Regions from separate parts of the Homo sapiens genome. Here region 2 is linked to region 1. The links are contacts of gene promoters, found by promoter capture Hi-C in human tissues and cell types (Jung and others, 2019). All regions are on one chromosome and are shown on one strand. The core of a region is centred on a gene start or on the middle of the fragment in contact, and the rest is flanking DNA. Distances in the headings are between cores, read along the strand shown.

Region 1 (6,884 bases), core at 2,000-4,499:
ATCCTTGGACCTTTGAAGTTCAGAGTGCCCACAACCGCTGGGTGTGGTGGCTCACACTTGTAATCCCAGTACTCTGCAGGGCTGAGGTGGGAGGATCGCTTGAGTCCAGGAGTCTGAGACCAGCCTGGGCAACATGACAAAACCCCATCTCTACAAAAATTACAAAAAAAATTAGCCAGGCCTGGTGGTGCATGCCTGTGGTCCCAGTTACTTGAGAGGCTGAAGTGGGAGGATCACTTGAGTCAAGGAGGTAGAGGCTGCAGTGAGTTGAGATGGCAACACTGCACTCCAGAAACCCCATCTCAAACAAAACAGAGCAAAACAAAACAAACTGCCCATAATGCTCCTGAAACTTCCTACGGATTTATCCAGAGTATGTGCTGATGTGCATTTTTTCCAAGGAGGGAAACCAAAGGTTCTATCAAATTAAGAAAAGAGTTTTTACCATTGTGGAAGACAGTATGGCGATTCCTCAAGCATCTAAAATCAGAAATACCATTTGACCCAGCAATCCTATTACTGGGTATATACCCAAAGGAATAGAAATCATTCTACTATAAAGTCACATGCACCCGTATGTTTATTGCAGCACTATTTACAATAGCAAAATGGAACCAACTGAAATGCCCATCAATGAGACTAGATAAAGAAAATGTGATACATATACACCATGGAATACTATGCAGCCATGAAAAGGAATGAGATCATGTCCTTGGCAGGGACATGGATGAAGCTGGAAGCCATTATCCTCAGCAAACTAACACAGGAACAGAAAACCAAATGCCGCATGTTCTCACTCATAAGTGGGAGTTGAACAATGACAGCACATAGACATAGGGAGGGGAACATCACACGCCAGGGCCTGCTGCAGGGTGGGGGGTGGGGTGTGAGGGGAGGGAACTTAGAAGACAGGTGAGTAGGTGCAGCAGACCACCATGGCGCACTTATACCTATGTAACCAACCTGCACGTTCTACACATGTATCCTGGAACTTAAATTAAAAACAAAAAAGAGTTTTTAATCCAAAAAAGATTAACAGCAACTAGAAGAAAGAAAGAGATATAAACAGTGAATTGCAATGCAGCACGGCAGGTGTTATGATGGAGTAGAAAGGACTGGAAAAGGCCTCCTGGAGGAAGGGACACTCAAGTGTCTTTCCATTTCACCTGTAAACTCATTAAGGGCAAAAGCTTTGCTACAGCTTCAGTATGAGATCCTGGGCAATCCGTGACAAAATGGGTCTGCTTTTGCACCCCCAACTTCTTCTCACATCCCTGCATCGTGCCATGCAGCATCAACTGGAAACCTCAGCATCAGCAAACGACGACAGAGCGTTCATCCGTAAGGTGAACCAGAAAAGCCAGTTCAATGACTTGTTTAACCATGGTCCATCTCAGAACCAAGAGTTGGGCCTCTTATTTACCAGAAAAATTGTGGGGGCTTTGTGATATGGCTTTAAAAAAATCTTGTAATTGCCAGGCGTGGTGGCTCACACCTGTAATCCCAGCACTTTGGGAGGCCGAGGTGGGTGAATCGCCTAAGGTCAGGAGTTCGAGACCAGCCTGACCAACATGGTGAAACTCCGTCTCTACTAAAAATACAAAAACTAGCTGGATGTGGTGACGCGTGCCTGTAATCCTAGCTACTCAGGAGGCTGACGCAGGAGAATCACTTGAACCTGGGAGGCAGAGGTTGCAGTGAGCCAAGATTGTGCCATTGCGCTCCAAAAAAAAAAAAAAAAAGACATTAACATAAATTTAAATATTTTATAATGACAATCCACATTAACTACTTAAAGCATAAGCTATTTTCCAGGAGAGGCAGCAAGTGCATTCTACTCCCATGCCCAAGAAGAAAGGAGCGTGACTTTGGTGGGAGTACTAGGAGTTTCTACTGGAGCACTTGCCCGCAGAGTGAGAAACGTTCCTAGAGAGGAAGTTATACCTGCTGTGGAATTTAAGAGAATCTTGTCATATTTTGACAAGTTTTTTGAGATGGAAGTCTCACTCTGTCGCCCAGGCTGGAGTGCAGTGGCGCAATCTCAGCTCACTGCAGCCTGCACCTCCTCGGTTCCAGCTATTCTCTTGTCTCAGCCTCCTGAGTAACTGGGATTACAGGCGCCCGCCACTACGCCTGGCTAATTTTTGTATTTTTAGTAGAAATGGGGTTTTACCATGTTGGCCAGACTGGTCTCAAACTCCCGACCTCAGGTGATCTGCCTGCCTCAGCCTCCCAAAGTGCTGGAATTACAGGCGTGTGCCACTGCGCCTGGCTAATTTTTTTTTTTTTTTTTTTTTTTTTTTTTTTTTAGTAGAGACGGTGGTTTCACCATGTCATCCAGGCTGGTCTCAAACTCCTGACCTCAGGTGATCCACCCACCTTGGTCTACCAAAGTGCTCGGATTACAGGCATGAGCCACCAGGCCCAGTCAACGTGATGTGTTTTGGAACCCTGAATTCCTTGGCTTGCCCGGAGGGTTTTCTTTTTGTTAATATCTTTGCTTGCTTTCTAGTATTTAAAAAATTGTGTTTTGCTCTAACTATGCAATGGCTTTAAGTCTTAGACAAATTTCCAGGGAGCAAAACACACTCAACCATTTCATAATAATCAGAAGAGAGCTCTGATCAATAAATAAGCAAGACTGAATTTTACAAAATAATCCAAAGTTTAAAACCAAAGCCCACTTTTTGCATGATCCTTTAAGAGAAAGAAATCTGGAAGCAAAACACCTTATAAAATGACAATGCACTTTCAGGAGCCCAGGGCACTGTGGTGAAATGATGATGGCTAGTACAGGTTATAAGCCTTGGGGAATTATTTATGAATTCTCAGGATCCTTCAGTTCGCCGCATCCTTCTCCATTATTTGAATATTGGAGGCTGCCTGACCAGAATCTTGTCAGGACTTTGCTCCTTCATCCCAGGTGGTCCCGGCTGACTCCTGAGGACGTTACAGCCCTGAGGGGAGGACTCAGCTTATGAAGTGCTGGGTGAGACCACTGCCAAGAAGTGCTTGCTCACCCTACCTTCAACGGCAGGGGAATCTCCCTCTCCTTTTATGGGCGTAGCTGAAGAAAGGATTCATAAATGAAGTTCAATCCTTCTCATCAACCCCAGCCCACACCTCCAGCAATTGAACTTGAAAAAAAAAACCTGGTTTGAAAAATTACCGCAAACTATATTGTCATCAAAAAAAAAAAAAAAAAAAAACACTTCCTATATTTGAGATGAGAGAAGAGAGTGCTAGGCAGTTTCCTGGCTGAACACGCCAGCCCAATACTTAAAGAGAGCAACTCCTGACTCCGATAGAGACTGGATGGACCCACAAGGGTGACAGCCCAGGCGGACCGATCTTCCCATCCCACATCCTCCGGCGCGATGCCAAAAAGAGGCTGACGGCAACTGGGCCTTCTGCAGAGAAAGACCTCCGCTTCACTGCCCCGGCTGGTCCCAAGGGTCAGGAAGATGGATTCATACCTGCTGATGTGGGGACTGCTCACGTTCATCATGGTGCCTGGCTGCCAGGCAGGTAAGGGCCTGTGGGTGCCCCCGGAATTCCGGGAAGGCTGATGGGCATCCCTCTTCCCAGCCACAGAACCAGAGGGAGTCCCCAGGTAGATGGTTCCAAGAAGGGAGTTGAATCTTGGGTTCCACCTCTTGCCTGTGACCCACGGGGACCCCAGTTTATGCCTCACTGTTCCTTGGTCTGTCAAGAGAGCCTGAAATAGCATTAGGTTCTCCTGTCCTTCTCAGTCCTTGACAATTAATTCTGGGAAGAATAGTGTGGCATGATATTTGGGATATTTGGATGTTAACAGGGTCCCGATGAGCAGGTTTCTCAAGAAATTATCTTTTATTCTTCAATGAATTTCCTTTTATTCTCTGCACTCCCACCCCCCAACTAAGAAGCTATCAGGAAGCTCTTTAAGTTCAGGTTAATTTGCTGGAGACATGAGTACTCATATATCAAACACTGGGAGAATTTAAGATCTCAGAAAAGTTTAGCTTCAAGGATGTATACACTGCTTTTACGTCTTAGGAAATAACACCTAGGAATTTCCTTACAAGTGCAACTTTACAGAAATTTTTAAAAATATGCATACTCACTTTTAGAACATTACTACTTCTCATAATCCTATGTATATACATGATATGTATATGTATACGTGTTTATATATGCAAATTTTAAATTTCATTCCTTGTTTCAAATGGATTTTCTCGAAGATTTTTTTTTTTTGACACTGTCTCTGTCAGCCAGACTGGAGTGCAGTGGCGCGATATTGGCTTACTGCAACCTTCGCCTCCCAGGCTTAGCGATCCTCCCACCTCAGCCTCCTGAGTAGCTGGGACTACAGGCATACGCCACCACACCTGGTTAATTTATTTTTTTGTAGAGATGGGGTTTTTGCCATGTTGCCCAAGCTGGTCTTGAACTCCTGGGCTCAAGTGATCCACTCACCCTGGCCTCCCATACTGCTGGTACTACAGGCATGAACCACCGTGCCTGGCCAATATTTTTTTTTAAAGAAATAAAAAACCACCAACTTCTACCTCAAACCACTCTTCCTAATTGAGTGTGAATTTTCTAATAATGTCTTCCCTTTGCTTACTCAGGAAGACAGATAAGAAAGTTTATAGTGTTTTTTGAAAGTCTATAATGGCAACAAGTAGAATGCTAACTGGCTGTAGAAAGAATTTATTAAGAAATGAAACATAATGATGCATTTCAGGAGTCTGCTTGCTTGTTTAGGGGAAGTGCCCAGTCATGCTGGGCTGTGTACTGGCCCAGATGTAGGAGTGTCTTTAAAGAGGGCATTTTATTTACTTATTACATTTTTATTTATTTTTTTTTTACTTTTTGAGACAGAGTCTCACTCTGTTGCCCAGGCTGGAGTGCAGTGGCGTGATCTCAGTCCACTGCAACCTCCACCTCATGGGCTCAAGTAATTCTCGTGCCTCAGACTCCTGAGTAGCTAGGTTTACAGGTGCGTGCACCACCACGACCAGCTAATTTTTGTATTTTTAGTAGAGATGGGGTTTCACCATATTGGTCAGGCTGGTCTCAAACTCCTGACCTTGTGGTCCACCAGCCATGGCCTCCCAAAGTGCTGGGATTACAGGTGTGAGCCATCGCGCCTGACCTATGTGTTTTATTTTAATAGGTTTTGGAGGACAGGTGGTGTTTGGTTACATGAATAAGTTCTTTAGTGGTGATTTGTAAGATTTTGGTGCACCCATCACCTGAGCATGTATGCTGTACCCAATGCGTTGTAAGATTTTGGTGCACCCATCACCTGAGCATGTATGCTGTACCCAGTGCGTAGTCTCTTTTCCCTCACCCACCTCGCACCCTTTCCCCTGAGTCCTCAGAGTCCATCGTGCCGTTCTTATAAAGAGGGCATACTTTTAGGAAGGTTTTTCAATGTGATTTCTACATCCACAGGGTCTTTGCTAACTCAGTCTAAGCCAAGAACAGGAAAATCTTGACAATTAATCATGCTCTGCCTCTGGAAGACACATTTCAAGTAAACTCGTGTTATTTCTAGCTATTGGTGACTTATCCAAGGGTCTGAGTGGTCTTGGAGGGAGCAGGGGAACTAGAGTCCCATAAGGACTCCTTCACGCCATTCTCAACATCTATCCATACCCCATCTGCCCCTCAACACTATAGGAAATACAAAAATGAGGGAGATATAGTCCTGACACTTAAGCAACTTATAACCTGGTGAGGAGGAGAAAAACATAGATATAAATATAGTAATACCAGTCAGAGTGTGGTAAGATCTACGGAGCGTTGGGCTATCAGAGAAGGCTTCATGAGGATGACATGTAAAGGGAGCCCCAAGGGACCAGTAAATTTCCATCAATGAGATTCCAGGGAGAGAGACCCCAATGAGCCAAAACACAGGAGTGCCTTAGGGAGCAGCAGGTGGTCCAATGTGCTCCTGCCCTGGACAGGGAGGGTGGGGATATGGGGAATTCAAACTGGAAAGTTAGGATGAGGTAAAATGAATCATCTAAGGCATTAGGCATTTTTAGTCTGTATATTGCTGGGCCCTGGGATGTGGTCAGAAAGAGAATTCTCCTAGTGATAACTTCTTAACTTCACCTAGTAGGCAATAAAGAACTACAAGAAAATTTAAAACTACCATTTATAAAGTAACTTCTATGTGCCAGATATGTGTCCTATTGTAATCTTCATAGCCACTTTGCAGTATGGATATCATGAACCCCTAGATGAAGCAAGAACCCAAAACTCAGACTCGCACAGGCAGTGAGAGTGCCAGGGTTTGAACCTGGTCTCCCTGGATTGTTCTGTTTCTGTTCATTGCAAACAGGGTCAGCGCTTTATGGAGATGATACTGGCATAGAGTGGAGAGAGATCAGGTGCACAGAGACAGGTCATGAGGCTCTTAAAATAGTCCAATCACAAGGCAAATGAGGACCCAGTGGCCAAAGACAATGACAGGGGTCAAGTTTCTGGAATCAACAGGAATTTCTAGGCATCACTCCAGGGTAAGAAACCATCTCATCACAGACTTTTTCTCCAAGAGGAACCTAGTCTTGAAACAAATCAGACTTTTTATTCCTCAGGGTAAGAGTTCTCTAATGAAATCAGACTGTCAACAGATGCAATTTCTAGCTGATTCATAAGGGCAGATTTTCATTCTGAAAATTTCCAAAGCCACCATTTAACATGGCAAGGGTTTATGAGGACATATTAGTCAACTTGAGTGTTTTTAGTCTCTATATTACTGGGCTCTGGGATGTGGTCAGAAAGAGAATTCTCCTGGTATTACCAATATGGCACGTTATTGAAGGCACCTTTCTCAGAACTGTGGAAATTCTGAGAGCTTGTATGTCCCTTGATCATCTTTCTTTCAT
Region 2 (6,884 bases), core at 1,530-4,029, 1.4 Mb before region 1:
CCAATTAAGCTTATTTTCCTCTCCTTTAAAATTCCCTCCCCCCATTTTTCTGGATGTTTTATAATGTATCTACTATATTCATACAATAGTGCATGGTCATTCTCTTTAAATAAATAATTATGAATTTAATGGGGAGTTTAGGCTTGATTATTTTTATTTTATTATTTTTTTACAGGTAGAGATATGAGGCAATAAAAATTTTTGGTGTGGTGGCTCGGGCCTGTAATCCCAGCACATTGGGAGGCTAAAGCAGGAGGATTGCTTGAGGCCAGAAGTTTGAGATCAATCTATGCAACATAGGAAGACCCCTGTCTTTACAAAAAAAAAACAAAAACAAAAATTAAAGCACTAGGTCGGGTGTGGTGGCTCATGCCTGTAATCCCAGTACTTTGGGAGGCTAAGGCAGGTGGATCACCCAAGGTCGGAGTTCGTGAACCCCCTGACCAACATGGAGTAACCCTGTCTCTACTGAAAATACAAAATTAGCCAGGTGTGATGGTGCATGCCTGTAATCCCAGCTACTCGGGAGGCTGAGGCAGGAGAATCACTTGAACCTGGGAGGCAGAGGGTGCAGTGAGCCAAGATCACACCATTGCACTCCAGCCTGGGCAACAAGAGCAAAACGCCATCTCAAAAAAAAAAAAAAAAAAATTGAAACATTAGCCAGGCAGGGTGATACGTGCCTGTAGTTTCAGCTGCTTGGGAGGCTGAGGTAGGTGGATCACTTGAGCCCAGGAGTTTAAGGCTGCAGTGGGTTATGATCATCCCACCACACTTCAGCCTTGGGTGACAGGAAAAGACCCTGTCTCCAAAACAAAACAAAAAAAAATCGGAGACCACTACTTTAGAATTTAGAATCAGAAACATGCTTCTGCCACTTGCTCCTTCCTACTTAAGAAGTGGCATTCAGAGGCTAGGAGGCTCTGGATACTGGGATAACTGGAGCACTGTGATAATCCAGACAAAAGTTATGGTGTGTTTTGATAGAAAAATACAAAAATAAGAGTTCAAGGGGAATAAAAAGAAAGATTCAGTGTAAGTTATGAATATAAGCATGTAAAGTAAGAATAGGAATTAAAACAGTTTTACATTTCAGGTTATGTAACTATTTACTCAGAAAATGTTTTTTTAAAATTACCCATTTTCCAGTAGAAAACACTGGTATATGACATCCCTCAACAGTCCACCCCTGCTTCCAGTTTCCTTTATGAAATAGAACTTACTGTGATGAAAAGTGATGATTAACATAAGTGGTTACAACTATACTAGGAATAATAGTGACAGAGAAATACAAACTGTAATTGCTTTTGTTTTTCAAGGAAAAAGAGTCATTTTTCAGTGATTTTCAAGCATTTTGGTTTGTGTCACCTTTAAATTCATAAAACATTATTGACAATCCTAGCGTTTTTCTTGTATGTGTGTTGATATTTACCATATTAAAAATTAAGACCAAGATTTCAAAATGACCCATTTTATGGGGTGGGGAGGTCCCCACATCTTGGATTCCAATTCCTACCTCTGCAGAGAACTGCAGAGTGGCTGAGTGCATGGCACATTCAGCTTGCAAATGGCTTGCCTAACCCATCGGGTGCGCCTCGGCCTCCAGTTCATCTCCCTTTCCGGTCGTTTGACTTGTTTGTTGAACAGGGTATTTTTATACTGAATTCTCCCTCGGACTCTGTAGGGAAAATCAATCATGGATTGTGTGGCCGTGGAACATACACGGCCCGTGGATGAGCTGGCTCATGGCTCGTCACAGAGTCAGCTGTCTACACGGCGTGATTGAAGCTTTACGTGGGAGTGCACTCGGACCCCAGGTATTTCCTCCTTTTGTGTGTCATGGCACCCAGCTCCTCTCCAGCCTGCTGTTTCCTGTGCTGACTTACCAAGTCTGAATCTCAGGCTGGGTTCCCTCAATGAGGTGTGCTCCTCTGTGACCTCCCCACTCCCTATAGCCGCTCCACCTTCCTCTCTCAAATTCAAGGGCTGCCCAAGCTGCAAGCTCATTGAGCAGTTCCAGAAAAGCTTAAATGGGAAGAACAATGACAGGGAGGCAAAACACCTGCTTGCAACTCAAACATGTGTTTCCTTTAGAGCATCTGAATACATGGAGCTCTGGTCACTGCCTGGGCCTGGAGACGGGGCAGGGAATCAGACGGGGAATACAGTAACAAACTCGAGTCACTGTGCATTTGAAGCAAGGCGTTGATTCAACACGCCAAGATGACGGGTGGTCCCCAGATCCTGGATCCAGAGGCACTAACCACGCCTACTATACAGTGAGATACAAAGAAGTGTCCTGCATGCTCCCTTGGCCATCGGGGCCAGACCAAGTGTTTGGATTTTGTGCTGCTGATTCTGAAACTCCACCTCCAATCCTCGAGAAGTCTCCCTGCAGGTCTACTGTTTGGCTATGATCGATGGTCCCCAGGTGTGGTGTTATTTCATTTCCAGTTTATCACGTTAATATTTTACACATTATGGGGAATCCTGGAATGAGTGCTGTTCTACGCACACAGGAAAGCCACAGTTAATCTGTAGAAGGTGTTCCAGCAGCTTATGGAGCTTTGGTTTCTAAAAGACTAAAGTGCTCAGTGGACTGCAGATACCTGAAACAATGAGGATTTTTTTTCTTGTGTTTTGATTTTTGCTTTCAGGTGGGAACCCATTTTTCAAAAGGACTAATTTGAGTTGTGGTTGGATGCAAACCTTGGCTGGAATCTCCCCCACTGATCCTGTCGTTCTCTTGTGATTGCTAACAGTTCCACGCGGCACAAATAAGCCAAGGATATTGCAGGCGCGATCTGAAAGCCGGAGCAACATGGGAAGAGCAAAAAGGTCATTTTTCTTCCCTGCCACCCCCTCCATTTTCCCTGGATGCTCCTGTGGACTGAAAGCATAAATTGCACTGCTCAGCCCCTGATGGATCACTGCACAGCTGGGGCTGGGAGGCTGGAGGGAGGGTCCCCATAATCTCCTTTTCCCAGGCTCTGTTCCAATTTCATCTTCGTCCCATTTTACAAACTCTTCCCTTTCTTCCTAATCAGAGTTTCGTCTGGAATGGGTGCCGGTGCTTTTCCACTGCAAAAGCAACCCAGGCAATTTGCTTTAGAGGTTGGAGCCAAGGTCTGAGGAATTGAGACAAGAAAACATCCCAGGGTAGTGTGGAAGTGCAGCCTTCTCTATTCCCAGCCTGTTGCAGACAGCCGTGCCATCTCCTACACCCACAGGTGATTTTTTGTTTTGTTTTTGTTTTTTGTTTTCTGTTTTTGAGACAGATTCTAGCTCTGTCACCCAGGCTGGAGTGCAGGGGCGCCGTCTCTGCTCACTGCAACCTCCTCCTCCTGGGTTCAAGTGATTCTTCTGCTTCAGCCTCCCGAGTAGCTGGGATTACAGGTGTGCACCACCATGCCTGGCTAATTTTTGTATTTTTAGTAGAGACGGGGTTTCACCAAGTTGGCCAGGCTGGTCTGGAACTCCTGACCTCAGGTGATCCGCCCACCTCAGCCTCCCAAAGTGCTGGGATTCCAGGCGTGAGCCACCTTGCCTGGGCAGAGGTGTGTTCATTGTTGTTGTTGCTTCTATCAGGTGGCGAACGCCAGGCATTACCATGACTTGGGCAGTACACCTCACTCTGAGCGACAGTGCCCTGGAAAGAACATGAGCCTCTAGAGTCCATTGAACTCAGCTTTGAGTTCCAGGTTCTGTCACTTATTAGTGGACAAGTCATTAGGCTTCCCTAAGTCTTCCATTTCTGATTCTTAAAATGAGGATAAAAGGACCCACCTCGCAGGGTTGCTGGAAGGGTTGTGTTAAGGGTGCCAGGCATATACTAGGTTTCCAAACAATGAGCTAGTCCTATGTCCAGACTCTTAAACTATGATGGGTTAAAAATAGTAAATCATATTTTTTTTCATTAAAAACAATTTTTTTTTAGAGATAGGGTCACCCAGGCTGGAGTGCAGTGGTGTGATCATGGCTCATTGCAGCCTCGTACACAAGCAATCCTCCCACCTCAGCCTCCCAAGTAGCTGGGACTACAGGCATGTGCCACCATGCCAGGCTTAATTTGTTTTATTTTTATTTCTTGTACATTTGGGGTCTCACTGTGTTGCTCAGGCTGGTCTAGAACTCCTGGCCTCAAGCTATCCTACCACCTCGGCCTCCCAAAGTGCTGAGACTATAGGGGTGAACCACTGTGCCCAGCCTGAAAGAATGTTTTTGATGAAATGTATGATTGAAAGATTGACTTCGACCCTCCCTAGTCTTTAAATGTCTTTGTGCAGTATTTTACTGTGTTTAGGTTCTGCACACATTTTAGAACCTGAAAATTCCTATGCAATTATCTAACCTTCCTGTATGCAGGAGGAAACTGAGGCATGGGATGCTTCAGGGTCGGCCGTGTCTCTGCCCACTGGCCTTGCCCCCTGCTATCTATTCTGCCTTCTGCCTCTGCTCTCCCCAGCACTCACACTGCTGGCCGTGTATCACTCGACCCAGGGACTCCACGTTCTAACTGCTGCAAATTAGTAACCCACAGAATGCCACACCTAAGTATATCAATGTGCTCCATGTGTAATTACTAAGAATGTCTCATTTTCTGACCAGGTTAGAGAAGAGGGTCACCGCTATTTTGTTTTGTTTCCTTACGGCTGTAGTAGTGTGCTACTCCTGCCTTGGCCTCCCAAAGCTCTGGAATGACAGACTTGAGGCACTGTGCCCAGTCAGATTTTTTCTTTTAGTTGGAGGGCAAATGAGAAGGAGAAACTGCAAGGCTGGGGGCGGTGGCTCACACCTGTAACCCCAACACTTTGGGAGTCTGAGGCAGGAGGATCACTTCAGCCCAGGAGTTCAAGACCAACCTGGGCAACAGTTCTACAAAAAGTTTAAAGATGAGCCGAGTGTGGTGGCGTGCACCTGTAGTCCCAGCTGCTTGGTGAGGGGCTGAGGAGGGAGAATCACTTGAGCCCAGGAAGCTGAGGCTGCCGTGAGATGAGATTGCACCACTACACTCCAGCCTAGGTGACAGAGCAAGATCCTGTCTCAAAATAAGAAATAAAAATAAAGAAAAGGAAGAGGAGCTGATACACTGTTGGGTTAATAATTCCAGGGCTTAGACAAGGCTAGTTTGAGTATTTGATGAATAGATCTCCCCATCGGCAGAATCCTCGATATCTAAGAAGCGCCCCATGTTTTGTGAACATGGTCCTTCCTGGGGCTCCTGTGTTTGCCCAGTGGAGAGACAAAGGTCCACATATGACAAATTAACAAATAAAATTCAAACTTCCTTGGCTACTGTGATAGCCCTTGCCAACGTTTCAAGCCACAAAATGAGAAACACACACACACACACACACACACACACACCCCTTGCCAAGGCTTATAAAAACTGTGCAGTAGTTACATAAAGTTTCCAAGCAAGAAGTTACTTCATAAACCAAATTATTTGTGAGGCTTAAAAAAAAAACAACGAGAAAATATGTTTCTTGCTTGAACCAATTCCCATGTTAAACGTCTGCCTTCATCACTCATTTTTATTACCAGTCTAAACACAGACTGTTTCAATGGAGGCCATTTACAGCATACAATAAAACGGATTCATTACTCATTTTCCTCTTATTATCTTTCAATTGCTGTAGCTCTCAGCACTGCATACAGTGGACATTAGGTCCAAGTAGACAGTGCATTACACGATCTCAATTGATGGCAATCCCTAACACCCTTAAACACACAGACACGGGAGACGCTCTGTCCCTGATCCGTTCCCTTGCGCCGCTTTTTATCACACTCATTCTATTTTCGTCTCATTAAACTTCCTATTTTTCACAGGAAGTTCTCCCTCTCCTAGTCGATACCACGTCTCCCTCTCAGTCTGCACCCATCCCAGGCCCCATGCAGTTTGCTTAAGCCATTTCTTCTTAAAAAAAATGCACACACAAACACCCACCACATTACTCACGTAATTAAGTATAATTTCTCTAGCAACAAGCTGACAACAGCTATTAAAAGTGGAGTTGGAGATTGAATCTTGGCGCGGCCTGCAAGTGATAGTGTTCTGGATGACAGGCAATGGTTATGTCATGATCCGAACAGAGATAAGAGCCCCAAACGATGTGCTGGCTTTTATTGCATGGATTAGTACCTTCTCCCCAAACCACCTCCACCTTCCTCTGGGCTGATTCCGCTACATTCATCCGGGTGCTATTTTGATACTTCAATGTAGCTTGCTAAAATTGGAATTAATTAGCTGGGCTTGGAAGCGCAGGCCCATAATCCCAGCTACTCAGGAGGCTGAGGCAGAAGAATCACTTGAACCTGGGAGGCAGAGTTTGCAGTGAGCAGAGATCACACCACTGCATGCCAGCCGGGGTGACAGGGCAAGACTCGGTCTCAAAAAAATAATAATAATAATTTAAAATTGGAATTAATGAGGTTCAGAAAAATAGGGTCTGGAAAAAAAAGCCCAGTGGCTTTGGTAATTCGAGTTAATGCCCCTTTACTTATAGATAAAAATATTTGTTTTTATTGATAATAAACATATGGCAGCTTTCTCGATGAAGCTCTAAGTCATTTATAATCTCATGGTTCCTGTGGGCTTATTCCTGATCTAGTTAACTAAAACATAGGAGTCTTACACAAACCTGGGTTGGATTTGAATTCTCATCTACCACTCAGCATCTATGGGACCCTGAATAAGTCCTGCCACCTCTCTGTGCTTCTTTTCCCGGTCGGTCAAATGAGTATAATGATACCCCGTCTTTCAGGTTGTTGAGAGGAACAAAAAAAGATAATGTCCATAAAACACATACTTCAGTGCCCAGACTTTATTAGGTGCTTCATAAATATTAGCTATTGTGTCTGTTCACACTAGTTATTAGGTGGCT

The links. The method cuts DNA at HindIII sites, captures the fragments that hold promoters and counts their contacts. A contact is called where the count stands out against the background at its distance.
Region 2: a fragment that was not itself captured here is called in contact with the fragment with the promoter of IL2RA in region 1 in 1 of the 25 tissues and cell types used here (mesenchymal stem cells).

What each region holds. Positions count from the first base shown.
Region 1 is chr10:6,058,732-6,065,615 of GRCh38, reverse strand. It overlaps IL2RA (interleukin 2 receptor subunit alpha), which reads left to right and starts at 3,249. Exons shown (of 8, transcript NM_000417.3): 1 at 3,249-3,528. The coding sequence starts at 3,465. RefSeq lists a cis regulatory region at 2,866-3,496 and an enhancer at 3,489-3,538. The HindIII fragment of the contact is 4,925 bases long and covers 1-4,883 here.
Region 2 is chr10:7,437,543-7,444,426 of GRCh38, reverse strand. It overlaps LOC124902373 (a long non-coding RNA gene), which reads left to right and starts at 995. Exons shown (of 2, transcript XR_007062050.1): 1 at 995-2,838; 2 at 3,048-3,933. LINC02642 (long intergenic non-protein coding RNA 2642) reads left to right here. Exons shown (of 4, transcript NR_184109.1): 4 at 1-135. The HindIII fragment of the contact is 3,759 bases long and covers 900-4,658 here.